Linked DNA regions of Homo sapiens: all the other regions are linked to region 2. Evidence: promoter capture Hi-C in 16 types of primary human blood cells and fetal thymus (Javierre and others, 2016). All regions are on one chromosome and are shown on one strand. Each heading gives the region's core, a stretch centred on a gene start or on the middle of the fragment in contact. The rest is flanking DNA. Distances are from core to core; before and after follow the strand shown. Region 1 holds the start of LOC124903256 (small nucleolar RNA SNORA16B/SNORA16A family). Region 2 holds the start of RFC3 (replication factor C subunit 3). Region 3 has its middle 9.5 kb from the start of N4BP2L2. Region 4 overlaps NBEA (neurobeachin). Region 5 overlaps BRCA2 (BRCA2 DNA repair associated). Region 6 overlaps ZAR1L (zygote arrest 1 like). Region 7 holds the start of PDS5B (PDS5 cohesin associated factor B).

The links. Contacts are between HindIII fragments. The CHiCAGO score rates a contact against its expected background, and 5 or more counts as called.
Region 1: a contact is called between a fragment that was not itself captured here and the fragment with the promoter of RFC3 in region 2, in 3 of 17 cell types (naive CD8 T cells, fetal thymus and naive CD4 T cells). The highest score is 8.3, in naive CD8 T cells.
Region 3: a contact is called between a fragment that was not itself captured here and the fragment with the promoter of RFC3 in region 2, in 1 of 17 cell types (non-activated CD4 T cells). The highest score is 6.9, in non-activated CD4 T cells.
Region 4: a contact is called between a fragment that was not itself captured here and the fragment with the promoter of RFC3 in region 2, in 1 of 17 cell types (M1 macrophages). The highest score is 7.7, in M1 macrophages.
Region 5: a fragment that was not itself captured here is called in contact with the fragment with the promoter of RFC3 in region 2 in 1 of 17 cell types (non-activated CD4 T cells); the score reaches 7.7 in non-activated CD4 T cells.
Region 6: a contact is called between a fragment that was not itself captured here and the fragment with the promoter of RFC3 in region 2, in 1 of 17 cell types (activated CD4 T cells). The highest score is 5.1, in activated CD4 T cells.
Region 7: a contact is called between the fragment with the promoter of PDS5B here and the fragment with the promoter of RFC3 in region 2, in 9 of 17 cell types (naive CD8 T cells, total CD8 T cells, naive CD4 T cells and 6 more). The highest score is 18.3, in naive CD8 T cells.

Annotation. Positions count from the first base shown.
Region 1 is chr13:32,418,719-32,422,416 of GRCh38, reverse strand. The region is part of intron 1 of N4BP2L1 (NEDD4 binding protein 2 like 1); the gene reads left to right. LOC124903256 (small nucleolar RNA SNORA16B/SNORA16A family) reads left to right here and starts at 1,901; the gene lies at 1,901-2,027. The HindIII fragment of the contact is 154 bases long and covers 1,189-1,342 here.
Region 2 is chr13:33,816,621-33,820,416 of GRCh38, reverse strand. RFC3 (replication factor C subunit 3) reads right to left here and starts at 2,268. Exons shown (of 9, transcript NM_002915.4): 1 at 2,152-2,268. The coding sequence starts at 2,238. The HindIII fragment of the contact is 2,489 bases long and covers 225-2,713 here.
Region 3 is chr13:32,546,511-32,550,089 of GRCh38, reverse strand. No RefSeq gene overlaps it. Among named protein-coding and RNA genes, the nearest start is that of N4BP2L2, 9.5 kb to the right of the region's middle. The HindIII fragment of the contact is 2,555 bases long and covers 380-2,934 here.
Region 4 is chr13:35,127,119-35,130,669 of GRCh38, reverse strand. All of the region lies in intron 17 of NBEA (neurobeachin), which reads right to left. LOC124903232 (a long non-coding RNA gene) reads left to right here. Exons shown (of 2, transcript XR_007063909.1): 2 at 1-3,551. Among named protein-coding and RNA genes, the nearest start is that of NBEA, 190 kb to the right of the region's middle. The HindIII fragment of the contact is 1,604 bases long and covers 1,145-2,748 here.
Region 5 is chr13:32,322,570-32,326,231 of GRCh38, reverse strand. It overlaps BRCA2 (BRCA2 DNA repair associated), which reads right to left. Exons shown (of 27, transcript NM_000059.4): 4 at 1,048-1,156; 5 at 82-131. Among named protein-coding and RNA genes, the nearest start is that of BRCA2, 8.9 kb to the right of the region's middle. The HindIII fragment of the contact is 3,977 bases long and covers 1-3,238 here.
Region 6 is chr13:32,302,405-32,306,286 of GRCh38, reverse strand. ZAR1L (zygote arrest 1 like) reads left to right here. Exons shown (of 6, transcript NM_001136571.2): 6 at 2,265-2,588. The coding sequence ends at 2,408. Among named protein-coding and RNA genes, the nearest start is that of ZAR1L, 11 kb to the left of the region's middle. The HindIII fragment of the contact is 8,321 bases long and covers 1-3,882 here.
Region 7 is chr13:32,585,029-32,588,453 of GRCh38, reverse strand. PDS5B (PDS5 cohesin associated factor B) reads right to left here and starts at 2,002. Exons shown (of 35, transcript NM_015032.4): 1 at 1,861-2,002. PDS5B-DT (PDS5B divergent transcript) reads left to right here and starts at 2,009. Exons shown (of 3, transcript XR_001749808.1): 1 at 2,009-2,077; 2 at 2,532-2,650; 3 at 2,885-3,425. RefSeq lists an enhancer at 898-957 and silencers at 1,188-1,437, 1,858-1,937, 1,948-2,317. The HindIII fragment of the contact is 4,434 bases long and covers 1-3,425 here.

The DNA.
Region 1 (3,698 bases), core at 16-2,515, 1.4 Mb after region 2:
ACTGAGAAGCTAAACATCTTGATCAGGGTCAAAGGGATGTGTTCTCCTATTTCTAACAGCTTTTTTTGTGTACCCCAAAAGAAGAGGCCGGAAAGGGGGTGATCTCGTGAAAGGGTAATGAGTTTGGTTTTGATCTGTCGTATAATGAAAAAACAAGAGCCTTATAAGCGGGCTAAGTTAACCTGGATTTCAATTGTCAGGGTAAGGAAGCTACATTTTTTGTTGTCAATATTAATGTTTCTCATAATATAAAAAATATTACTCACCAGGGAATTTATTTTCTTTATTAACGTACCATTGAGGGCAATGGGAGGAAATGAGATTTAGATTTTTAAATACGTTTCCATATTTATCCTGGTTATGATGTGTTGGAGAGAGATGTGGTAGTCAACTTCCAACTCCCAAGCAGGTCTAAAGTCTCTTTCTCATCTGCTCACATGTTAGGATATTTATAAGTCAATGCCTTAGTTCCTTCATGGCAGTTTCATGAACCTTCCCCTACATAATAGCACCCGCCTATGGCCACTCAGTCTCTGGATGAACCCAATAAGAATTTTTTTTTAGTCACGCCAAGTTATCTGAAGATACTGAGGCTCTCTGGGATTAAGGAAATTTTATAATAAAGAAAAATTAGTCTGCCTTCCAACTGTTCCTTCATAAGGCAGATCATATGTATGGCTTGGGGAGAAGGCTGTTTTTATCAAGGTAAGAGTCTGGGAAAGGGGAAGGGAGAAATGGGGAAAGAAAAGCCAGCACATGGTTACTGCTGACTGTCTGCCCGGCCCTTTTTGGACACTGGCTTATTGAATCTTCACAATAACCCTGGGATGTAGTCATTTTTATTTTATAGATGAGGATTTTAGGATTGGAGAGTCACACATTTGAGAGACTCAGGGGATTTCATAATACACCAAGTGATCTTATATTACTAGGGAAGTTCATGGACAAACATACCTACATCCCTTTCACAATTATTGGGGAGTCCTGCTGAAGTATGATTGTATAGCCAGGATTGTCCAGCACTCTTTCCCCACAGATTTTAAGGATATGCTGAAGAAGAAAGAGGGCCTGAAAGGGACTTTCATGCTACCATTTGTTGCCTTGTACCTTGGCTTTCTTTTCTTCTTGGCATTGGTACCACTGACGTATATTTATTTATTATCTATTTCTTTTACTAGAACGTAAGCTTCATGAGATATGATGTAAATTCCATGAGATCAGGAACTTTATTCTGTCCAGCTCCTAAAAGAAGGCCAGGCACATCACAGGCCTTTATTCAACATTTGATGAATGCATTAGTTCATGAAACGCAATGTGAGATGCCTCCTAAGATGTGGAAGCTTGGATGTCAGCATGGCTCTTGAGTAAAGAACGAAACCAAAGGGCAGATTATTCACATAAAGAGAAATGTAAAAGAATGAGGCTGGGCATGGTGGCTCATGCCTGTAATCCCAGCACTTTGGGAGGCTGAGGCGGGTGGAATCACCTGAGGTCAGGAGTTCGAGACCATCCTGGCCAACATGGTGAAACCCCGTCTCTACTAAAAATGCAAAAAATTAGCTGGGCATGGTGGCAGGTGCCTGTAATCCCAGCTACTTGGGAGGCTGAGGCAGGAGAATCACTTGAACCTGGGAGGTGGAAGTTGCAGTGAGCCGAGATTACGCCATTGCACTCCAGCCTGGGCAACAAGAGCAAAACTCGGTCTAAAAAAAATAAAATAAATAAAAAAGAATGAATGGGATATGGAGGACAGACAAGGGGGAAGAAAAGGAAAAAACAGAGCCACTCATTCCAAAGTTCTCAATTCGGTGCATAAGAAAATGATTCCTATTTGTTGCAGGTGAAAATGTTTGATGTGCCGGCTCCTTTACCTCATAGTTACAGTAAGAAGAAATTTAAAAATTGGGATCAAAGATGCAGCCGCCTTCCCATTTAAGCAGCACAGACAGCCCAAAGTGACAGTTTTCCTGTACAGTTACTCTTCTGTTATCTGTAACTGATCTATGACATTTTGGGAAAAAACAGCCAAAAAAAATTAGTACTGAGGTAGGTGTGCCTGATTCCTTCCCCAATTCTGCTCATGACTGAACCAACAGAACACAAACACAGGTGAAACCTGCACAGCTGTGAGAGCCTACAAAAGTTCACATGCAAGATACTTAAAGGAATTTCTGCTCAATAGAGTCTGTGGGACCACACTGACAAACGAGAATGAGGGCTCTCTGGGAGCCTGGCTTTGGACCTCATGAACATGGTCTACTTTGGAGGTATGAGGGGTAAAGGTAAGAGAAGTAGGGCAGACTGGGAACTGTTCCCTGAGTCCCCCTAGCCACTGTGGCTTGGGGACACTTGAGGCTAGCAGTGATTGAGGCTTGGCTCTCCAAGGACAGGACTTGGCCCTGGTGGGGTGGGTGGCAGCACTGCCCAGGTTCGGCCACACCTGGCCTCAGGGGAGGCTGCCCATGTCATCTATAGCTTGGCTCCCTCCCTGCTCTCAGGCTGCTGAGCCATGGAATCTGTTTTCTATCTCCCAGTTTAAAGTCCTCAAGAAGAATGTCAGTAGCATTCAGAGGAAGTGCTGGGATCCAGGAAGAATCCTCTCCGTCAGTCTCCTTTAAGGGTTGTATTAGTCTGTTCTCATTCTACTAATAAAGACATACCCAAAACTGGATAATTTATAAAGGAAAGAGGTTTAATTGACTCACAGTTCAGCATGGCCGGGGAGGCCTCAGGAAACAACTTACAATCGTGGTGGAAGGGGAAGCAAACATGTCCTTCTTCACATGGCGGCAGGAAGGAGAAGTGCTGAGCAAAAGGGGGAAAAGCCTTATGAAACCATCAGATCAGCCGGGCGCAGTGGCTTATGCCTGTAATCCCAGCACTTTGGGAGGCCAAGGCAGGCAGATCACCTGAAGTCAGGAGTTCAAGACCAGCCTAGCCAACATAGTGAAACCCCGTCTGTAAAATACAAAAAAAAAAAAAAAAAAAAAAAAAAAAAAAAAAATTAGCCAAGCATGGTGGCAAGCACCCGTAATCCTGGCTAGTCAAGAGGCTGAGGCAGGAGAATCACTTGAACCCGAGAGATGTAGGTTGCAGTGAGCTTAGATTGTGCCACTGCACTCCAGCCTGGGTGATCGAGCAAGACTCTGTCTCAAAAAAAAAAAAAAAAAAAAAAAAGCCAGATCTTGTGAGAACTCACTATCATGAGAACAGCATGAGGGTAACTGCTCCCATGATTCAGTTACCTCCCATCGGAGGTAATTCCCATGACGTGGGGATTATGGGAACTATAATTCAAGATGAGATTTGGGTGGGGACTGCCCCTGGCTCCTCCAAAATCTCATGTCCTCACATTTCAAAACACAATCATGTCTTCCTAACAGTCCCCCAAAGTCTTAACTCATTCCAGCATTAACTCAAAAGTCCAAGTCCAAAGTCTCATCTGAGACAAGGCAAGTCCCTTCTGCTTATGAACCTGTAAAATCAAAAGCAAGTTGGTTACTTCCTAGATACAATGGGGGTACAGGCATTGGGTAAATACACCTATTCCAAATGGAAGAAATTGGCCAAAACAAAAAGGCTATAGGCCCCATGCAAGCCCAAAATCCAGCAGGGTAGCCAAATCTTAAAGCTCCAAAATGATCTCCTTTGACTCCATGTCTCATATCCAGGTCATGCTGATGCAAGAGGTGGGCTCC
Region 2 (3,796 bases), core at 1,019-3,518:
ATGAGTTCTTTCTTGAAGCCTGCTTAGAAAAGTGGATGGGGGAAAAGAAAGAGCATTAATTCCAGGCATTTCAAATCTACTATGGGTGTCACAGAGAGAAAAGCCCTCAGGCAAAGTACAGATGTACAAAGTTAGAAGTCAGAAGTCAGTCTGTGTGCACTTAAAAGCAAGAGGACTGGGTAGGGCACTAACAGTATCTGCTGATGATGAGTTTTGCAAAAGCTTTTCGGGTGTTTCTGATGATCAGTCTGGTTTGGGAACCAGTGCTATGAAGGCTATAAAGATGAGTGGGTGACAGACCTTAGCCTCGGGAGCATAAAGTCTTGTAAGGTGAAGTTCTGTAAATAACCATTATTGAAAAAATGGAATACGTATCTTAAGAGAAGCGCTTATTGCAATGAATTTTAATACTTTGTAAACTCATCCATCTCTGTCACTAAAAAGTCCCAAGGAAAAGAACTATTCAATCTAATATACTGCCTGGAAAATGGCAAGTGTCCCACAGACACTTACTGCCTTGTTTTTTCAACTTCAATCTAATCAAAAATAAGGGTTATGCTTTAAATGTTTCATAGTTTGATTAAGCTGCAAATAAAAGAGTAAACAGGTGAACATTTCTTAAAAGCAAATTTAACACATAAGACCATTATATTAAATTCATGTCCAAAATATACATTCCAAATTCTGTACAACAAAATGTGGCCACAGAAAATAAAATGTATTCTATCACTAGGAAAACTGAAGACAAAGCTATTGACGGAAAATGTAATTTGTCTATAAATGATGGATACTGCAGTAATCAATTTATTTTAAATTAGTATACATGCAGTATCAATAAAGAGACCAAAAAAAAACCTTCAATGTCACAACACTATCAACTAGTCTAATGATTTTTACGTGTACAATCTTTTCTTATTATTTCTTATTTTTAAGACGCACTTAATTAAATAGTATCTGTAAATCTAAGAAAGGTCGGAAGGGAAAACCAGGGTATTGGGCAAAAACGTTTCCATCAGCATCATATATTAATTTGAGTTCCTTAAAAGGAGTGGATAAATGTCTTCCACAGACACTTTATTCTCCTAAAGATCCTTCTTTACTCTCTACTCCCTGGAAGATTCAGTTCGTTCTCACAAAATATTGCCATTGGGCACTTTTATCAACTACAACAGACAAAGAGGCATCAGGATAGAGGGGAGAGGATCTTTCACAAAGCTCTAATCTCAGCCACGCACGGTGGCCCACGCCTGTAATCCCAGCACTTTGGGAGGCCGAGGCAGGCGGATCACCTGAGGTCAGGAGTTCGAGACCAGCCTGGCCAACGTGGTGAAACCCCGTCTCTACTGAAAAATACAAAAATTAGCTGTGCGTGGTGGCGGGCGCCTGTAATCCCAGCTACTCGGGAGGCTGAGGCAGGAGAATCGCTTGAACCCGTGAGGCGGAGGTTGCAGTGAGCCGAGACCGCGCCATTGCATTCCAGCCTGGGCGACAACAGCTAAACTCCGTCTCAAAAAAAAAAAAAAAAAAAAAAAAAACTAATCTCAGGAACGTCCTAATACAATTTATTTGAGAATTAGAAACGATCTTTGGAGTAAATACATATTTACAACACTTTACTTGTAAATGACAATGACATCGAGAAATCTTAAGCCAGCTAGAAAGTAAATCACATGGTGTCATCTCCGCTCAAAATGCTCCAACGGCTTCTCGTCTTATTCTGAGACTGACTGGGTCTGCACTCCAACTCCATCCCAACACATACACCCATCTCCGATTACCCTTCCCGCTGGTTCACCACTATCGGCTACGCCGGCCTCCTGAGGTTCTTAGAACATGCCGTGCACATCCCTGCCCGGGAATTTTGCACTTGCTGTCCCCTCTTACCTGTTCCACTCTTTGCTCGGATTTCTGTATTTATGACTTTTCAATTTCCTTCAAGTCTCGGCTCAGATGCCACTTCTCAGTGGAGCTTTTCTTGTTTAAAAATACAAGCCAGCCTCCCACACCTCTTCCCCCTTCCCTGTGTTATTTTTCTCCATAGCACTTATCACCTTCCAATGCGGGCGGGAGAAGCACTGCTCCTCAGGGGGGCGCGAAACCCCGAGCCGGGGGGCCTCCCCTCTCCCACGCTCCCGGCCCCCGCAGACTCACCAGGTTCCGCAGCTGGGCCGCCTGCTCCTTGTGATAGTCCAGCCGTCCCAAGGAGCAGGGCCGATACTTGTCCACCCAGAGGCTCATGGCAGCTCGAGTTCCCGGGGGCCTACGCTTGAAAATCCCGCGCGAGCGCGCGTCCTCCCCACAACGCAGAGACAAGTTTTCCCGCGAGCTCCAAATCTCGTGACGTCACTACCGGTCGCGGCCGCGTAAATGATTTTGGACGGAAAGGCTACGGGGGCCGTGTGCAGACAAAATCAGCTGCCGCGTCGATGCCCTCTAGTTCTGAAGTTCACTGCTTTATTTATTTTCTCTTTGTTCGCACCGTCTATTATATTCTAGAAATTATCAAGCGGAATTGAAAATGTGGTTCTGACCCTTTTGGCGTCACATCCAGATACCTCAGAGAAGACCGTTCCTTTCATTTATTCATTCTTTCATTCACTTAATTCATTCAACAAAAATTTACTAAATATCTGCTAGGTGTGGAACTCTGTCCTCGGCACTAGAATATATACATCTCAGGGTTTCACTCACTTGGCAGGTACCCAGTAAAGCTTCATTGGATGAATCGCTTGAAAATGTCTGATCTTCACTATCCTTTGTTACCTCTATTCCTCAATATTCTTATTGGATTAGAAACAAAAGAATCAAGAGCATGGAAAAACTACCCAAATGTGGTCTGTAGGGGAGAAGACACGAGGTTAATATGCATTCTAAGTCTAGAATATTTGAAAGCCCTCCAATTAAAATGTGTAGAAGCATCTGAACCCCTCAGAAAAATATTCTGCATATGAAGTTGATATGCAACTTTTGAAGTTCTCTTCAAATAGTGCCTCTCAAAATGCACTTTACTCATTGTACATAATATTAATTCCTTATTTAATTTATGCTTTTATTTTATGTATTATTAAGAACCCTAAGTCCTGCCATTTGATTGCAAGGTCTTACAGGCAGGAAATGATTTCCAAATATACTTAATAACCTTTCACCAAGGTGCCTCTTACTCATTTATTAATCAATAATTTATCATGTTCTTCTATGAATCGTCATATTACATGAATTACTCCTGCAGGTAAGGTATTATCCACACCACCAAGTATAAGATTTAATCCCTGTTCTCGAGAAACTTTCTATAATAAGCCTGGAAGGCTTCTGCCTCAGGGCCTTTGCAATTACTGTTTCCTCTTCCTGGACTATGTTTCTCCAGTCAGCAGAGTTGGGTCCCTCATTTCCTTCAGGATGTTGGCTCAAGTATTATCTCCTCACTGAGGCTTCCCTGACCACCCTATTTAATATTGCAAAAAAGCTTCATCTTCTTTATGCTTCTCTCCTTTGGAATTGAAATGGAGGAAGTGTTTGAAATGAGAAGGTAAAGGAAATCAGAAGCAGGGATACTGAATTGTGGTCTATGTGTATATCATAATCATAATGAATGATAATGGAAATAAGTACTGAGAGGAATAAAGAGAAGAACCAAGTGCTAGAATGATCAATAATTTGGCAAGAGTGACCACAGGCATGACAGACAACTTCAATAAGGAGCAGTGGTTGATGGTCTCTACCGTGAAGACATGTCTCTACCATTGAAGCACATGAAGACATGTGCTTCAATATTGTTGGGGGTTCTGAGGAAGGAGAA
Region 3 (3,579 bases), core at 408-2,907, 1.3 Mb after region 2:
TTTGTAGAAATTCCCTCTTCTGATACTTGTGTTGGGCAGAAGTCAAGGACAAATGAGGCCTGCACACCTGACAACCTGGGCCTTCCAGCGGAAACTGACAGGGCTGAGATAATCCTGTGGCCATTGCTGTGGGGGCACTGTAACTGCACAGGAGAAGGGACATTGCTGTGACACTGTCGAAATGTGAAACCTCTGGAATTGTCCTCTTGGTACATTTTGTTTCCCCTATAATTGTTAACAGGAAAATCCATAAAACAAAGACACTTGTGTATTTACCCTTTGGAGCACGGTTCTCTGAGCTGAAAATGGGGTGCACGTTCAGGAAGCCAGCCCAATTTGTGGTGTCCAAGAATGGGCTGGAAGAAAACCGTCATAAGCTTGTCTTTTGATCAAATGAAAATACTTTTCATGTTTACTGATGATTGATAATTTTTCCTGCTTTTAAGATTCTCATTCTCATGACATTTAAGGAAAAGTGTGAAATTCAATTCTTAAGAGTAACTTATAACACATGCCTCAAGGCAAAGCCTCCTTGAACAGTGTTTATCTTCTTTACTGCTAGGAGTTGGAGGCGGCTACACTCTGTCAACCATCCTGTGAAGTAAAATATCAGAAGAGACACCAACATCACTGCCTTAAAGACAGTAGAACCCCAAGATTTCCTGGACTGGGCAGCCTCCTTATCCCCTTATCCAGGAAAGTTAACAGAAAAGACACGTTAAGAGAAGAAAATATTCTCTAATAATCTCTGCAGCAATTTTTTCCCCAATGTTTTCAGCTAAAAAAAATTGTTAAATGTAATCCTTTTTTTTTTTCATTTAGTTTCCTTCAAAGAATTTTCTTTCTATTCAAGTACTTGAAAATATCTATTTTTCTATTACTGGATCTCCCTATCACTATGACTTTGTAAAAAAAATTGGGTAAAATACACATAAAAATGTTAACATCTTGATCATTTTTAAGTATACAGTTCAGTAGTGTTAAATACATTTCACATTGTTGTGCAACCAATCTCCAGAATTTTTATCTTGTGAAGTTGAAATTCTGTACGTATTAGGTAACAACTTCCCATTTCCTCCTTCCCGCAGTCCCTGGCAACTACCATTCTACTTTCTGTTTCTATAAGTTAGGCTATTTTAGGCAGCATTTGTCTTTTTGTGACTGGCTTATTTTACTACAATGCCTTCAAGGTTCATCCATATTGTGGCATGTGATAAGATTTCCTTCCTTTTAATTTAATTTTTGATATAAGGTCTCACTCCATTCCCCAGCCTGGTCTCCAACTCCTGGGCTCAAGTGATCCTTGTGCCACAACCTCCCAAAGTGCTAAGATTTCAGCATGAGCCACAGCGTCTGGCCTCCTTCCTTTTTAAGGCTGAGTAATATTCCATTGCATGTTAATAGCACGTTAGGTTTACACATTCATCTGCCAATGTGTCCTAGGGTTATTTCTACCTTTTGTCTATTGAGAATAATACTGCTATAAATGTGGGTGTTCAGATATCTCTGTGAGACCCTGTTTTCTACTCTTTTGGGTATATACCCAGAAGCGGAATTGGATCACATAGTAACTCTATGTTTCATTTTTTTGATGATGCACCATGCTATTTCCCACAGTAACTGCACCATTTCACATTCCCACCAATAATACACAAGGGTTCCAATTTCTCTACATCCTCACCAACACTTGTTATTTTCTGGGTTTTTTAAAAATTTTATTTTGATAGCAGCCATCCTAATGGGTGTGAGGTGATATCTCATTATAGTTGTGATGTCTGCTGAGCATCTTTCCATGTTCTTATTGGCCATTTGTATACCTTATTTGGAGAAATGTCTACTCAAGACCTTGCCCATATAAAGACATACAAAGACCATGGGCAAGTATGACGACATAGTCAAGACCTTGTGCATTTGGAGATATTTCTCCAAAGAAACTATACAAAATTATATATATATATATATATATATATATTTTTTTTTTTTTTTTTTTTTTTTTTTTTTTTTTTTTTTTCCTGTCATCCAGGCTGGAATCCAGTGGCATGAGCTCAGCTCACTGCAGCCTCTACCACCCAGGCTCAAGCAAATCCTCCTACATCCCACCTCAGCCTCCCAAGTAGCTGGGACTACAGGCACGCACCACCACACCCTGCTAATTTTATTTTACTTTTTTTGTAGAGACAAAGTGTCTAAGTTTCACTATGTTGCCCAGGCTGGTCTCAGACTCCTGGGCTCAAGAGATCCTCCTGCCTTCCCTCTGAAAGTGCTGGGATTACAGGTGTGAACCACCACGCCCAGAGTTGTCCATGTCTTAATCAAATTGTTTGTGTTGTTGTTCTGTTGCTATTGCTGAGTTGTAGCAGTTCTTTATACATTCTAAATATTAACCCTTTACCAGATATATGATTTGCAAATATTTCTTCCCAAATTTCCATGGGTTGCCCTTTCACTCCGTTGATTGTCCTTCAATACACAGAAGTTTTAAATTTTGATGTAGCCTAAGTTACCTATTTTTTTTCTTTTTCTTTTTCTTTTTCTTTTTGAGACGGGTCTCACTCTGTCACCCAATCAGGAGCGCAAAACAGGGTCTCATTCTGTTGCCCAGACAGGAGTGCAGTGGCACGATCTCAGCTCACTGCAAACTCTGCCTCCCAGTTTCAAGCGATTCTTGTGCGTCAGCCTCTCAAGTAGCTGGGACTATAGGCGCCCACCACCATGCCTGGCTAATTTTTGTATTTTTAGTAGAGATGGAGTTTCACCATGTTACCCAGGCTGGTCTTGAGCTCCTGAACTCAGGTGATCCACCCACCTTGGCCTCCCAAAGTGCTGGGATTACAGGTGTGAGCCACTGTGACCAGCCCCTGTTTTTTTCTTTTGTTGACTGTGCTTTTAGTGTCATATCTATGAAATCATTGGCAAAACCAACATTATGAAGCTTTTCACCCAAATTTTCTAAGATTTTTGTAATTTTAGGTCTGATACTTAGGTCTTTGATCTATCATTTTTTTATTGTGGTGAAATAAACATAACATCATATTTATCATTTTAACCAGCTGTAAAAGTGTAATTCAGCTGTTGCTATCACTTTTTAACTCTTGGGATCTCATCCTTGGGGGAATAAATTATAAAGTTTTGGTTGTCTGTCATCTAAGCAATGATAAAATCAATCATCTATCAAATGTGAACAGGTTATGCCTTTTAGGATGGTAAGGCCATGACACCTCAGATAAAGCAAAGCAGCCAAGAGCACAGACAGATAGCCCTAAAATCTTCTGCCAAAGCCCCATCTCTCTTCGTTATTTTTATTGTGAGCTGACCACGCAAATTTATTAACCCAATTCTTATGATTATTTTTTGATAGACAACAGTTGCCTTCAGTTGTTAGAATCAAGTAAAAAAACCTTCTCCCGGCAACTTTGAGAGCAAGTTTCTGTCTCACTTACAGATATATCAAACATTTTTGTTTAGCAAGCAGGCATGGAATAGCTTATAGAGCCTACTTAGTAGTAAGCCTGATGACCGTTCTTTGTCCTTTTAGTACTCTGACTACTATGTTGCATGAAAGGTTCTTTTTAGGCAGAT
Region 4 (3,551 bases), core at 697-3,196, 1.3 Mb before region 2:
TTATACTTTTGAGATTTTTTGTAATTGATCTTCTAAGGAAAAAAATATGTTAAAATTTGTAAAATACTCTTCCAAATTTAGTCAATAATAGATTTCTACGACTCACCTACACTAAGTGTATACGCATTTGAAACTTTTACATTCCTAGTGAATTACACCTTTTTCATAACATGGTGGCCCCCTTCATCCTCATTAAATTTTTTGCCTTAAAGTTTATTTTTATATATTTAAATAATGCAATAACAGCTTTTATCATTTAATTTTTAGAATAAGTAATACACTTACCTAGTTAAAAATATATGACATAAAAAAATACATAGAGATTTTACACCCAACTCATCCTTTACATTTCCACATCACTCACAGCTCCCCCATACAAGTGAACACTTTATAATTTCTCATTTCCCTACCACTTTACCCTTCTCTTTTAAATGCACTTTATTTTTAGAGCAGTTTTAGGTTCTCAGTAAAATTGAGCAGAATGTAGGGAGTCCCATATGTCCCTACCCCTACATATACACAGCTTTCCCCACTGTCAACATCCCTCACCAGAGTGGTACATTTGTTATAACTGCCTATTAACTTTTTAAATGCAAATAAAAATATATCATTTGTTCCATTCCTTTAACAGACAGCATTTTTTAAAAGTAAATCATCACTCTATTCATCAGAGATGGCACCTTTATTAGCACTAAAATCACTAAGTATTTGGGTCAATCTATGGACTGCACTTTGCTGTTTATTCACAAATATGTACTATATTGTTTTCTTTACTAAAATATTATATTTCTTTTAATATTATATGGCTAACTTCCCTTTGTTGTTCTCCTTGTCCTTGTTGGGTTCTGGAGTTTCACTTTGTGGTAAGATTTCATACTAATTTTCCCTGATTAGAATTCATTTTACTTCCAAAATCTGAGAAATCAGGTCTTTCATCAATTTTGTAAAACTTTAGTAATTTACTTTGAATATTGCCTCTTCCTCATTCTCTCTTCCCCTTTTCTATAACTCTTATTAGCCATATTTGAAACCTTTCCTTTTTTCCCCCTCTCTTAATGTCATGGTTGTAATCTTGCTTATTGGTGTTGATTTCTAGGTAATTTCTTCAGTTCTATCCCTCAGTTCACCAATTCTTTGTGAAGCTTTGTCTAATCTGTTTAATGTTTCCATATAGGTGTTCATTGTAATTACTACCTTTACATTTTCACAAGTTACTTAGGGTTTTTTTAATTACATGGTTTATTTTTAAATTACCTTGTTTTTAAAGTCTTGTTTCTTTTAGTATGCTTGATTTTCATTTCTGGAATGTGAGAATTTCCCTTACTTTTGTGTGCACACCTATATATTTAATAGGATTTTTGACATATTTTTATCTAACATTTCTAAGTTTTTAGTAGATCAAAGTGTTTCAGGATATCTAGTTTTTACACTCATCACTTTTCTAAGAACTCTTTCTTTTATTATACTTTAAGTTTTAGGGTACATGTACACAACATGCAGGTTTGTTACATATGTATACATATGCCATGTTGGTGTGCTGCACCCATTAACTCATCATTTAACATTAGGTATATCTCCTAATGCTATCCCTCCCCCCTCCCCCCATGTTTAAGGAGAAACATCACACACATTGTTCAATTCCTACCTATGAGTGAGAACATGTGGTGTTTGGTTTTGAACTCTTAATAGCCACATGTGAAGTCTCTTATTTTCTAAGGCTTTATCTTTTCTCTCACTCTCTATTTTTCATCCATGCTTTCAGATCTTCCATTAAGTAGGGTGAAGGGTTAAAAAATCATCAGCTAAAAGAGCAGAATATTATCATTGGTGCTCTATTTGAATCTCAAAATCTCTTTGTATAAATGAAATTCAGATGTTCCACAACAGCCTCCACCATAGTTTTACTTCACTGGGTACACAGTTTGATGATTCTCTCATCCTGCCTCTGGCTAGTAGGCCCCTTTAGATGAGTTGCTATTTTTCACTACCCACAGAGTCAAGGTCAAATCTCATGGCTGTGAATTTTAAATGATGAGATCCCTGCAGGTAGTGTCAGGCAGAGCACCCTTTAAACTTACTGACTTGTAGTATAAAACTTAGCAAGCTATAAGTCCTGCACCATGAGCCCCTGGAGCCAGCATGATAGCACTCCAATCTTCCTACACACCGACCCACAAGTTTAAGGTCAAAAAGATTTATCCCATTTCAGATCTTCTTGGCTTTTTGTGGACTGAAATAGGTGAATTAAAGTTCGTTCTGAAGTCTTAAACTTTAAGTGACTGTCTGTTTCTCCTGTAATTTCTAGTTTATGAATGTTTCTATTTTATCATTATAAAGAATTCTTCTTTATCTAATGGTTATTGCTTTTTGGCTTGTATTCTAATTTGTCCAATACTAAGATCATGGTTCCTACTTTCTGCTTTTTTTTTTTATTATTATACTTTAAGTTTTAGGGTACATGTGCACAATGTGCAGGTTAGTTACGTAGGTATACATGTGCCATGCTGGTGCGCTGCACCCACTAACTCATCATCTCGCATTAGGTGTATCTCCCAATGCCATCCCTCCCCCCTCCCCCCACCCCTTTCTGCTTTCTTTGTACTTATATAATAAAACTTTACTCATCCTTTTACTTTCAACCTTTCAAAACCACTTTGGTTTTTGGGTATGTTTCTTGCATACAGAACTGGGTTTCATTACTGTGATCAATTGTGATATTTTTCTTACAACAGCTGATTTATAAAAGCTTTTACATTTTTTTTTAATGACAGTAAGACTGGTCTTAGATATTTCATATTTTATGTTATGCTTACTGATCTTTACGGATTTTTCAAAGTTCCATTACATACATTGTTCTTAGTTTTATCCATACAGATCTTAAATATTTTGAAAGCTTTATAATTTTATAGAACTGCTTATCTTTTTAACTGTGAAAGAATAAGTAATCCTCCATCTGTTTAAAAAGGGTATTTCCCTACTATGAGAAATGTAAATGTCAGCATATTTACTCTTAATTTTTTCCTTTCATCTACATCATCAAATTTTAGTCAATAGGCCTATATTTGTAATATTTCATCTGTCCACTTACATGGAAATTCTGACTCTTTGCACTTGCTCTACTTTCCTTCTTTTCTCAGTCCCCTCCCAATTCATTACGGTTGTGTCATTTGTACATTATTAGCATATATAAAAAGTAAATTCTGGTCTGTCACAGTAATATGAACATTTATTTTAGTCTTAGTTTTATGGTTAAATTTATTCAGTGCTCACCAGCGGTCCTTAGCAATAGTTTCTCCAGTCATTCCTAGTTGGTTGGACTTTATTCCCCACAATTTCCTCAAGATTTAGTCACAGAAATAATTTGCTGTATGGCTAAAAAATATTTGACAGCATCCTTTTTACTTAAAGGATAGTTTGGCTCCCACTTTCTTCATTTAATTATGATTGTTATAGTTTTTTGTATTGAAGGTTATTTTAGAGTCTAAAGCCAGACTCATTTTTCTCCTTATTTGTGCACTATTATACAAAGTATTCTTCTATTTAAGTCCAGT
Region 5 (3,662 bases), core at 1-2,500, 1.5 Mb after region 2:
AAAAAGGGGAAAATTGTTAAGTTTTATTTTTATTAACATTTCTAGTATTCTAAGAATAAAAAGCATTGTTTTTAATCATACCTGACTTATCTCTTTGTGGTGTTACATGTGTACATTGTAGAACAACAGGACTAAAATAAAACAAAGCAAATCCCTTAGGTTATTTTAAAAAACTGGCAAAAACTAGTTTATCTTATTTTTAAAAGAAGATTCTCATTCATATAAATTGTTGGAATACTACTTTTAGATATTTTATATTACATTTTAAAAAGTAAATCTCTCATGAAGCATTAAATAATCATCAAGTGATGTTTAAAATGCCAACACATATGTACTCACAAATTTCAGCTGCTGGAAACCGTGTATTTTAAACTCAAAAATTTTGTAAAGTAGGCCGGGCACAGTGGTTCACGCCTGTAATCCCAGCAGTCTGGGAGGCTGAGGCGGGCGGATCACGAGGTCAGGAAATCGAGACCATCCTAGCTAACACGGTGAAACCCCGTCTCTACTAAAAATACAAAAAATTAGCCGGGCATGGTGGCGGGCGCCTGTAGTCCCAGCTACTTGGGAGGCTGAGGCAGGAGAATGGCGTGAACCCGGGAGGCGGAGCTTGCAGTGAGCTGAGATCGCACCACTGCACTACAGCCTGGGTGACAGAGACTCCATCTCAAAAAAAAAAAAAACAAAAAAAAAATTTGTAAAGTAAATCATATTCTCTCCAAAGATGAAAAGTACACAATTTATTTTAAATTGATAATTCAAGGACTGACTTACTGCTTTTCACCACTGTTATTTTTGTTACTTAAAAAATCACAGAATATACAGAAAACCAGCCAATTCAACATCACAAGAACAACAACTTACATGTTTCTAATGTAAAAACTATTCTATTAAAGGACTCAACCTAAAAGATTATTTAAAAATGTAAGATCTTCTACCAGGCTCTTAGCCAAAATATTAGCATAAAAATCAGATTCATCTTTATAGAACAAATATATGTAGGAAAATGTTTCATTTAAATATTTTAATATAATAGCTTCATCATACCTTTCACTAAGACAAGAATTTAGAAGTGGACAGGAAACATCATCTGCTTGATCCATTTTAGTTTTCACTGTGCGAAGACTTTTATGTCTACTATTGGGAACATTCCTTCCTGAAACAGTACAATAATTCAGTGAGAATGTATATACTCTGGATTATAAATTTGCATTCTTTGGAAGTGTTTAAAAACAAAAAGTCTCCTCTATACTGGGAATGAGAATGTATAGGGAGTTGTAAGAAGAGGTTTTTCAGTTTGCTGATTACCCCCCAAAAAGGATGCCCCGAGCACAGTGGCTTATAATTTGAGGGCTCTGGGAGGCTGAGGTGGGAGGATTGCTTGAGGCAGGAGTTCAACACCTGCCTGAGCAACAGAGTGAGACTCTGCCTCTACAAAGAAAACGCTGGTGTGGTGATATGCCTGTAGTCCTAGCTACTTGAGAGGCTGAGGCGGGAGGATCACTTGAGCCCAGGAGCTTGAGCTATGATCATGCCACTGTATTCCAGCCTGGGAAAAGAGCAACATCTTGTCGCTTTAAACAAAAGCAGAAGGAAAGAGAAAAAAGGAGTAAGGGAAGACATTTACTGAAAACCTACCAATGTACCAGATCTGACAATATCACTTGTGCTAAAAACCTTTCAAGATCTTACTTTTCAAGATCAAGTCAAACTCCATAGTATGAAGGCCTTTCACAATTTACTTAATTTCTTCATTTTTAATTTTTGTGGGTACATAAGAAATATATATATTTATGTGACAATTTACTTAATTTTTATGATGCCATTCTTTTACAGTCTACTTTTTACCCATACCCAACCATTTGCATATCCTGAAAGAATGTTTTCTTTAACCTCTAGGACTTTGTACAAGCTGTTTCCCCTTCTTTGCTTTTCTTGACCTGGAACAACTCTTTCAGGCTTCCATTTAGAAACTACCTCCTCCAGAAAACTGTAGTGATCCCTAAGGTAAGATTAAGTGTTTGCCCCCCTATGTGTTCCCTGAAGAGTTTGATCATACACTGTTCTTTTTCCCCCTACTAGGCTGTGAGCAATCTGAGGTAGAGATTTTGTCTTATTTGTCACTGTATCCCTAGCAACTACAAAAATGTCTGGTATATTAGTCACTCCTGAAATATTGACTGGATGAATAAATTGGATATAATTAGACAAAGTGAGTTGCAGACAGTAATACATAATTTCTATTCTTATTGAACACATCCATTTTCTAAGAAAATAATGTTCAGAGTTTCTAAAGCTATAGGTGGCTTTAACAATATGAAATCCAATTTACAGTTTTTCAATATTTCTATTTTCTGTATTAGAGTAGATTATATTTGACTCTCCAGGGCATTAAGTACTCATATGGTTCCAATAGTTGATGGTAACTACAAATTTGGCACCTGAGTCACTTATTATTACTCTTAGAAAATAGTTGCTTCGGTTGGTCCTATAATCTCTAACTTAGCTTTTGGGAAAAATAAGCTCTATCAATGTTACTAAAATAAAGTGAAGACCAAATTTAAAACTGTTTGTAGCAGCCTAAATAAAATGTCTCATTATAGTCTCATTTTTCAAGTTAACATGGACTAGACATAATCACTAATAAAGCAAATGGATGTGTAACTTAAAAACCCCACTTCAACAAAATATCCAACCTCCTTCTCTAATGAGATTTTTAATTAAAGATACTAAAAAGTAGCTAATTCTTGAAAGAAAATTGACTTTAAAAAATAAAACAGGCCGGGCATGATGGCTCACGCCTGTAATCCCAGCACTTTGGGAGGCCGAGGCGAGCGGATCACGAGGTCAGGAGATCAAGACCATCCTGGCTAACACAGTGAAACCCCGTCTCTACTAAAAATACAAAAAAATCAGCCAGGTGTGGTGGCGGGTGCCTGTAGTCCCAGCTACTCAGGAGGCTAAGGCAGGAGAATGGCGTGAACCTGGGAGGCGGAGCTTGCAGTGAGCCAAGATCACGCCACTGCACTCCAGCCTGGGCGACAAAGCGAGATTTCATCTCCAAAAAAAAAAAAAAAAAATTAAATAAAACAAACAATGAGGTACCACTACACACTTGTTAGAATGGCTAGAATTCAAAACACTGACACACCAAATGCTGGTGAGGATGTGAGCAACAAGAACTCTCATTCACTGCTGGTGGGAATACAAAATGCAACAGCTACTTTGGAAGAAAGCTTGTAGTTTCTCATAAAACTAAACATACTCTTACTATATGATCCCACAATCGTGCTCTTTGGTGTGAACCAAAATGAGTTGAAAATATATTCACACACAAACCTGTATGTGAATATTTATACCAGCTTTATTCATAATTGCCAAAATTTGGAAGCAATCAAGATGTCCTTCAATAGATGAATGGATAAACAAGCTGTGGTACATCAATACGATGGAATATTATTCAGCATGAAATCATTAAAAGACATGGAAGAACCTTAAACACATATTGCTGTTGGGAACTGGCCCCAAAACTGGCCATAAACAAAATCTCTGCAGCACTGTGACATGTTCGTGATGGCCATGACACCCACGCTGGAAGCTTGTGGGTTTACCGGAATGAGGGCAAGGAACACCTGGCCCACCCGGGGCAGAAAACCGCTTAA
Region 6 (3,882 bases), core at 408-2,907, 1.5 Mb after region 2:
TTACTCATACTAGACCTTTGCACCATATTTCTTTCTGTCTCTTATGTGCTTATCTATATTTTCCATGCTTTTAGCTCTTCTTGCTTTAGGCTGAATATTATCTACTAAACCATCTTCCATTTGTATTTCTCATCTCAGCTCTTTTTAATCTGTGATTAAAACATCCATTGAACTATTGATTTTATTTGTTGTATTTTTCTGTTCTAGAATTTTTATTGCTTTAGAAGAAAACTTCAATTTTTTGCTGGAAATATTAGTTTTATTTCCTTGAACATATTAGCACTTAGTGATTTTAAAATCTGTGTCAGAGAACTCCATTAACTCAATACCCTGTGAGTCTATTGCTGTCCTCTTGGCTTTCAAGTATGTTGTTCTGTTTCCTCACATACAGTACCTGGTTATTTTTGATTGAGTGCTAGCTATCACATGTGAAAAACTATAGTGAGAGTAAACAGTCCCAGACATCAAGCTCACACCTATTTCTGGGTTTTCATCTCTAATGCTCTGATAATTTCTCAGTGATCCAAACAGTTATTTTTAGCTCAGCTTTTCTAGTCATCCAGGAGGCTTGGTTAGAATTACCTAATCCATCATTTCCAGAAGCAAAAATCAACCTTTAGGGTAAATCCTTATTTTATTGAGCCTTTCTTTGTAAGGGTGTTGTGAGAATTAAATGAATTCATGTATATAAAGTGCTTAAGAGAGTGCTAGGCACATAGTAAACACCATGTGAGTATTACTTGTTAGAATTTTCTTACAAGGGCTGGGTGCAGTGGCTCACGCCTGTAATCCCAGCACTTTGGGAGGCCGAGGCGGGTGGATCACGAGGTCAGGAGATCGATACCACCCTGGCTAACATGGTGAAACCCCATCTCTACTAAAAATACAAAAAATTAGCCGGGTGCAGTGGCAGGCGCCTGTAGTCCCAGCTACTCAGGAGGCTGAGGCAGGAGAATGGCGTGAACCCGGGAGGCGGAGCTTGCAGTGAGCCAAGATAGCGCCACTGCAGTCCAGCCTGGGCAAAAGAGCGAGACTCTGTCTCAAAAAAAGAAAAAAAAAAAGGAATTTTCTCATAAGGAGGCATATTCTTCAACAGAACAGTTTATTAAATAATGTTTAAGACTGCATTTAGCAGAATAAAAATGTCTATTTTCACAATATAGAAAGGTACATCTTGGCCAGGCATGGTGGCTCACTCTTGTAATCCCAGCGCTTTGGGAGGCCAAGGCGGACGGATCACCTCAGGTCAGGAGTTCAAGACCAGTGTGGCCAACATGGTGAAACCCCATCTCTACTAAAAAATACAAAAATTAGCTGGGCATAGTGGCGATTGCCTGTAATTCCAGCTACTCAGGAAGCTGAGGCAGAGACAATTGCTTGAACCCAGGAGACGGAGGTTGCAGTGAGCCAAGATCTCACCACTGCACTCCAGACTGGGCGACAGAGCGAGACTCCATTTCAAAAAAAAAAAAAAAAAGGTAAATCTTGACTTATTCCATGTGGCTATGGGACATGTAGAAAATAGAATGGCAGGGTTGGGGGGATGGAACCAGGGTACTGTACCAGTTTCCATAGGATATTAGTTTTAATTATTGGAAGACAGAAATGAGATAATGGTTGAAAGAAACTATTTTAGATCCTAGTAAAGATTGGGCACATCGAAAAGAAGAAGAAAAGAAACATTTAGTTTCCTCCAGAATACCCTTCTCTCCCAGTTTTAACAACCCAAAATATATTCAGACATTGCCAGATGTCCACTGGGGTTGGAGATGGGGGAGTAAAATCACCCCTGGTTGAGAACATCTGCTCTAGTCTTTTTTAAATGTTCATTTTATTCCTACCCACTGCCACTCACCCTGACCTGCCTACAAATCTAAACATCTGCAGAGTGAAGAAACGCTATAAAACTCTTGACTTATTTTTTTCTCTTACATTATGTTGCCTTGACTGGTTCAGCTACAAATGTAAAAATCTACATAGGGAAGAAATTCTACAAAACTCTTAAATTCCTTTTACATTATGTTGTCTTGATTGGCTCTGCAGTATTCTCTTGAATATCTTCTGTGATCATTCATCTTGAAAAAATATCTGACATTTAATGTGATACAAGTAATTTTGTACAACTTGGTCTTGGCCTTCTCGTAGGACTCAGAGGATGAAGGTTTCAGGGATAGGGTAATAGGGAGAAGTACTGTGATTTGAGGGTTACATTTGAAACACTAAACTGATCATTTAGCGTCCAAACTCTTCTTTGTTTCCTAAAGACCTGCTCAAAGTCTCATTGTTCCTGTCCTCAAAAGAAGAGACACATTGATCTAAGGAGGCCTCATCGACAGGAACTGTGTGGTCGCTGCAAAGACAAGAGATTCTCCTGTGGCAATATTTACAGCTTTAAATATGTGATGTGACTTGTACAGTGTGACTTGTAATGGACCCCTGAGCTCTTCTTGTAACTTACTGTGCTGTCTTCCTTTTTTGCAACTTGGCTCTGACCTGGCATCGGAAAATGGCTAGGCTTTTGTACTTTTTGTAGATTGTGTAACAATTGTACAATGTGAATAGAATAAAATAAATGCATGTGAACTAGACCATGAAGCCACATTAATTGGTGATCCTAGGGTAAAAACATCAATATATGGCATTGGGAAATGGTAGATACTGTCACTTATATGAAGGGGAACAATGAAGAAAAATAGCCATTCTTTTGACAAATTTTTATAAGTCGGACGTTCTAAGCACTGGTTCTAAGCATTATATATAGAGATGATGAAGGGGCAAGGTCCTTCCTCCAAGTATACACAACTATAGCAAATGCAGAAGCAGCCTTTAGCATGTGCCATGCATTGCTATTACTCACTACAGCACCCATATGAAGTAGGAGCTATTATACCTTCTCATAGATGAGGAGATAGAGGCACACAGAGGCCAGAGCAGAGTGCCAGGATTTAAACCAGGTAGAGTAGGACTTGCTCCATGCTTTCACAATTACATTTATACTTCTCAAGTTCAGATTGTGATAAATGCCATGAAGGAAATAGGGTGCTATGATAGAGTAACCTTTTAGACACGTTGGCTGGGAAGAGGTGACATGAGATTGAGACTCGCAGGATGAAGGGAGCAGGGAGAAGATGGTTTTGATCCAAGGGAACAGCAGGAATAAAGGCATTGAGGGGCTGAGGAATAGGAGCCCCCTGGGGCTGATGTGGGACATGAGGCTGCAGAAGACAGGGCTCTGATCACAAAGGATTCTCAAGGCCATGTTTAAGCAAATGACAGCCCATGAGGGGCTTTCAACAGTGCAGACACATTCTCACTTCAAAAAGCTCCCTTTAGCGGGAGACCAGTTGTGAGGTTAATGAACACATGAGCAAATTGATGGCTTGGACAAGGGTGATGGCCAGGGAGACGAAGAGAAATCCATGGGTTTAAGATAATGTTTGAAAATGTGCAGGGCTGGCAGTGGAAGATGGAGGAAATAAACAATGACTCAATATTGTGCTTTGAGCTGTAGGGTGAATGGAATTGAGAGCTATACCAGGTAGGAAGCATGTTCTGGAGTCAGGTTACCTAATTGCAAATCGTGGGTGCTGTACTTACTTAAGAGATAATTTTGGGCAAGTTACTCTCTACCTCTCAGTTTACCTATCTGTAAAATGGGGATAGTGATAGTCCTCACACCATCAAGAGACGAACTAAAGGAGTTGAGGCATGTTCATCACTTAGAATAATTAGTGCCTGTCACTTTGAGGGCTCAATACATTTACCTCTTATTTTAGTGGAGCTATTTAGTGATGTGGGGATGGGCTTCTGTTTTCAACATAAGTTTGAAGTGTTGGAGACATCCAAATGGTAGATGTCATGTAGCCTATTGGGTATATGTGT
Region 7 (3,425 bases), core at 753-3,252, 1.2 Mb after region 2:
GAAAAAGTCACTATTTTGGTAATTTTTATAAAGTCTAAAGTGCATCTTGTTAGACATATTTGTAAATGTATATTAAGTACAAATTTTATTTATAAGGAATAATGTTCTTAAGATGTGTTTTTACAGTTAAGTTTCTGAGACTAAATCTATCTTCACATAAAAGTTCCCATGTAATTTTCACCTACATATTCAGCACTACAAATTTTAATTAGGTTTTCTGCTATCACCATGAGATACAAGATTAATTGTTGCACGAACTGACCTGCATACACCATTGAATACTCATTTTATTGTCCCTAAAGATGCGAACATCTCAGACATGTGTACTGCATGAAGAGCTGTCTTTCAAGTCCATATTTGTGGCTTTTAATTACTTTACCTGACCACTACATGAGTTAATATAAAAAACGTTCTGTCTGGGAACTCGGGATGTGTTAACTGAGAACAATGACTATACTGCCGTTCAAGCATTGGGTAATTACGATTTATTTACAGCTCGCCTCCTGTATGTAAACACAACTTGAGTTTTTGAAGTTCATTAGGAAGATAGTATAGGATTACCCAACTCTCTCCACACCGCAGACCAACCCTCTAAATTAAGGCTATACCCAAAGTTTTCGAAACTATTTCATCAACAGGGTAGGATCAGTCTGGGCACCACTGCCCATCCATCACCTCTTATTAAAAGTACGAGAAGCACTTTCTTCGACATAAAAAAGGGTTAACCCTCGCTGGGGGAGAGAGGCTGTTGAAGACGCGCGTGGAGTGGGTGGGTAGCTGCTCTACCAACCCTTCCCGGAGCTCGCCCCGTCCGCGGCAAGGAACGCAGCAGCCTGCAGCTCCGAAGGCGAGGGGCGGCGTTTCTGGTTTCAGTCATTCGTCCAAAATAACTGTCGAGCTACTTAAGAGTTAGCTTTCACGTCTCTACCAAAAACCAACAGCAGTAGCAGCAACAACAACAAACAAGGTTTTTCTCCGGACCGAAAACTTTTAAAGTAACATTAAAATAACAGTGTAAAAACAATAACGAGTCACAATTGCACACCATTTTCCCCGCCGTTCCTTCTGAAAGGAAAGCTAGAACCCAGTTGTGGCCTGGGAGGAGTCCCTCCACGCCAGTGCTGGGCTCTTCCTCAACTGGCTGCTCGGGGACCACTCGGGGTGGCGCGGTGAGCGCGATTTCCCTCCGGCGAGCGGCGAGGGACAGTGCAAAAATGTCACGCTCAGCCCGTCCCCTGGCCCGAAGCGGAGGCCAGGCGGCGCGCGGGGACCCGGCGGCGGGGGCGAGAGCGCCCGCGGCCCCGACCCGCGGTCCCCGCCCGCCCCTCGCCCGGAAGGGGGAGAAGCCCGCCCGCGGGAGGATTCAACAGGAGCACCGCGCCGCCCGCCTGCCGCCCGGGAAACAGCCGCCGGCCGGCCGGGGCGCGGGGGGAGGGGCGCGGCGGCGGCGACGGCGGCGGCGGGAGGGCGCGGGCGGCCGGGCGGCCCCGAGACCCCCGCCCGCGCGCAAGGTCACCGCCCGCCGCCGCCGCCGCCCCGGCCGGGATCAGAGCGGCAAGTTTAATTTTCCAGAGGCTGCGGCAGAACCCGCGGCGTGGAGGCGCGCGCCGGCCGCGGGGCCCTCCCCACCCCCACCGCGCAGCCGGCCCGCGCCCCGCGACCCCCGCCCCGGGCCACCGCCAGGCAGCCACCCGCTGCAGCCCCCGATGCCGGGAGGCGAGTCGCGCCTGGCACCCAGGCGGGCGGCGCTTCAGCCCTGCCACACACACGCACACAGCGGCAGTGGCGGCCGCTGAAAAATGGAGCGCCGCAGCCAGAGAAGAGAGACATTTTCTTTCCGTTAACTGAATTGTTTCCTACCTCCGGGTTGCCGACTCGCTACTCCGCTCACTCCGGGGCTCTCCGGGATCCGCCGCCGCCGCCGCATCCAATCGCCTTCTCCCCCCCCCTCCCCTTCCGCAGCCAGCCCTGCCGTTCCTCCTCCTCTCCGCTTCAAAATGGCGCCAAGCGCTCTTCGGCGGCTGCTCCAATCGAACCGCCGCGGACAGCACCCGGGGGCAGGCAGAGCGCGGCATGGGTGCGCAGCGCCCCCTGCCGACCAGACGGCCCCGAGCGCGTCCGCCCTCCGAGCTCCACCCCGCCCCGTCCGCGCGCGCGCACGTCCCTCCTCAGCCCCGCCCCGTCCGCGCGCACGCAACCACACGGGCACGCCGCCGCGGGGCCCGCGAGAAGGGCAGCTGTCAAGGCGTCCACTACTCTTGCGGCTTCCTAGACCTCTACCGACAAAAACCACACCGATTGTTACGTAGCCCTATCTTTTTAGATAAAGGTTGGGAGATTTTTTTAAACCCTGACATTCAGCACAGGTGTTGTGATGGGTAAACAGAATTGGTATTATTAACTACTTTGCTCCTTACTTGTTAACTCTGACCTAGTCGTCTCGGAATGCCATACAAATAGTTTTCCTACACTTTACGTGTTATGTCTTTATTAAATCTCCCCGCTTTCCTAATTTGAGGAATTGTTTATAGGTGGTAGGCTGGCGGAGACAGAGTAATTGAGCCTGTGACGAAGCATTCCATTCCTTTGGCAGAATTGTCCTTATTAGAGGAAGAAATCATCTGGAGACCACAGGGACACATTCCAGGAGGTGGGTCTCCTCCCCTCTTCACCTCTAAGGGATGCCAGTCCCTCCTGCAGCTGTAGAGTGGGTTTAGCCTGGTCACCACAGCAGATCACCTACCTTGCGGGAAGGTTTCCTCCCCAGCCGGGTCCCTGCCAGAGCTGAAGAAGGGACTTCCTCCTCTTTTTACTTTAATACCATCCCTGCTGTAAGGAAGTTTCCCCTGATATGATGTATTTGGTTACTAGAATTTTGTTCCAGGGAGAATTTGTTTCAACAATGAACAAGCAAAGTGTGAATGAATGGATTACAGTAGGATACTTATCAACTGAAACAAAAGAGAGGTAATGCTGATATATAAACTAATGCTACTGTGTTAGAAAAGGTATGTACATCGGTATTCCATCGGACCCGGGCACCTAGAGATACTGAGACCTCTTCATTTCCATTTTTGTGGGATTCGCTGGACAATTCCGCCTCAGTCTCCTCCAGTGCTTGCTAGACCAATATGTTGTGTTACTGTATTCCTGTGTCCAAGATTTTGCCACTGAATACTCCAGGTTCTACCCATTTTATACATTCCTCGATGAAGTCTACTATGAGTTTTTTCTGCCCTCTTTTTAAAATTATCTCAGGAATTTTCTTATTTTACATCGTTGTTCCATCAACATAAATCTTGTATGGGAGAGTAGGATGTCTAGATCTAGAAAAACCTTTCCTCTTTGGTTGTTTTTATTATGTTTTTTACTTTATTTTCTTCAATTCCCAAACCTCCAAAGCCAGGAAGCCAGAAAGTTTCAGA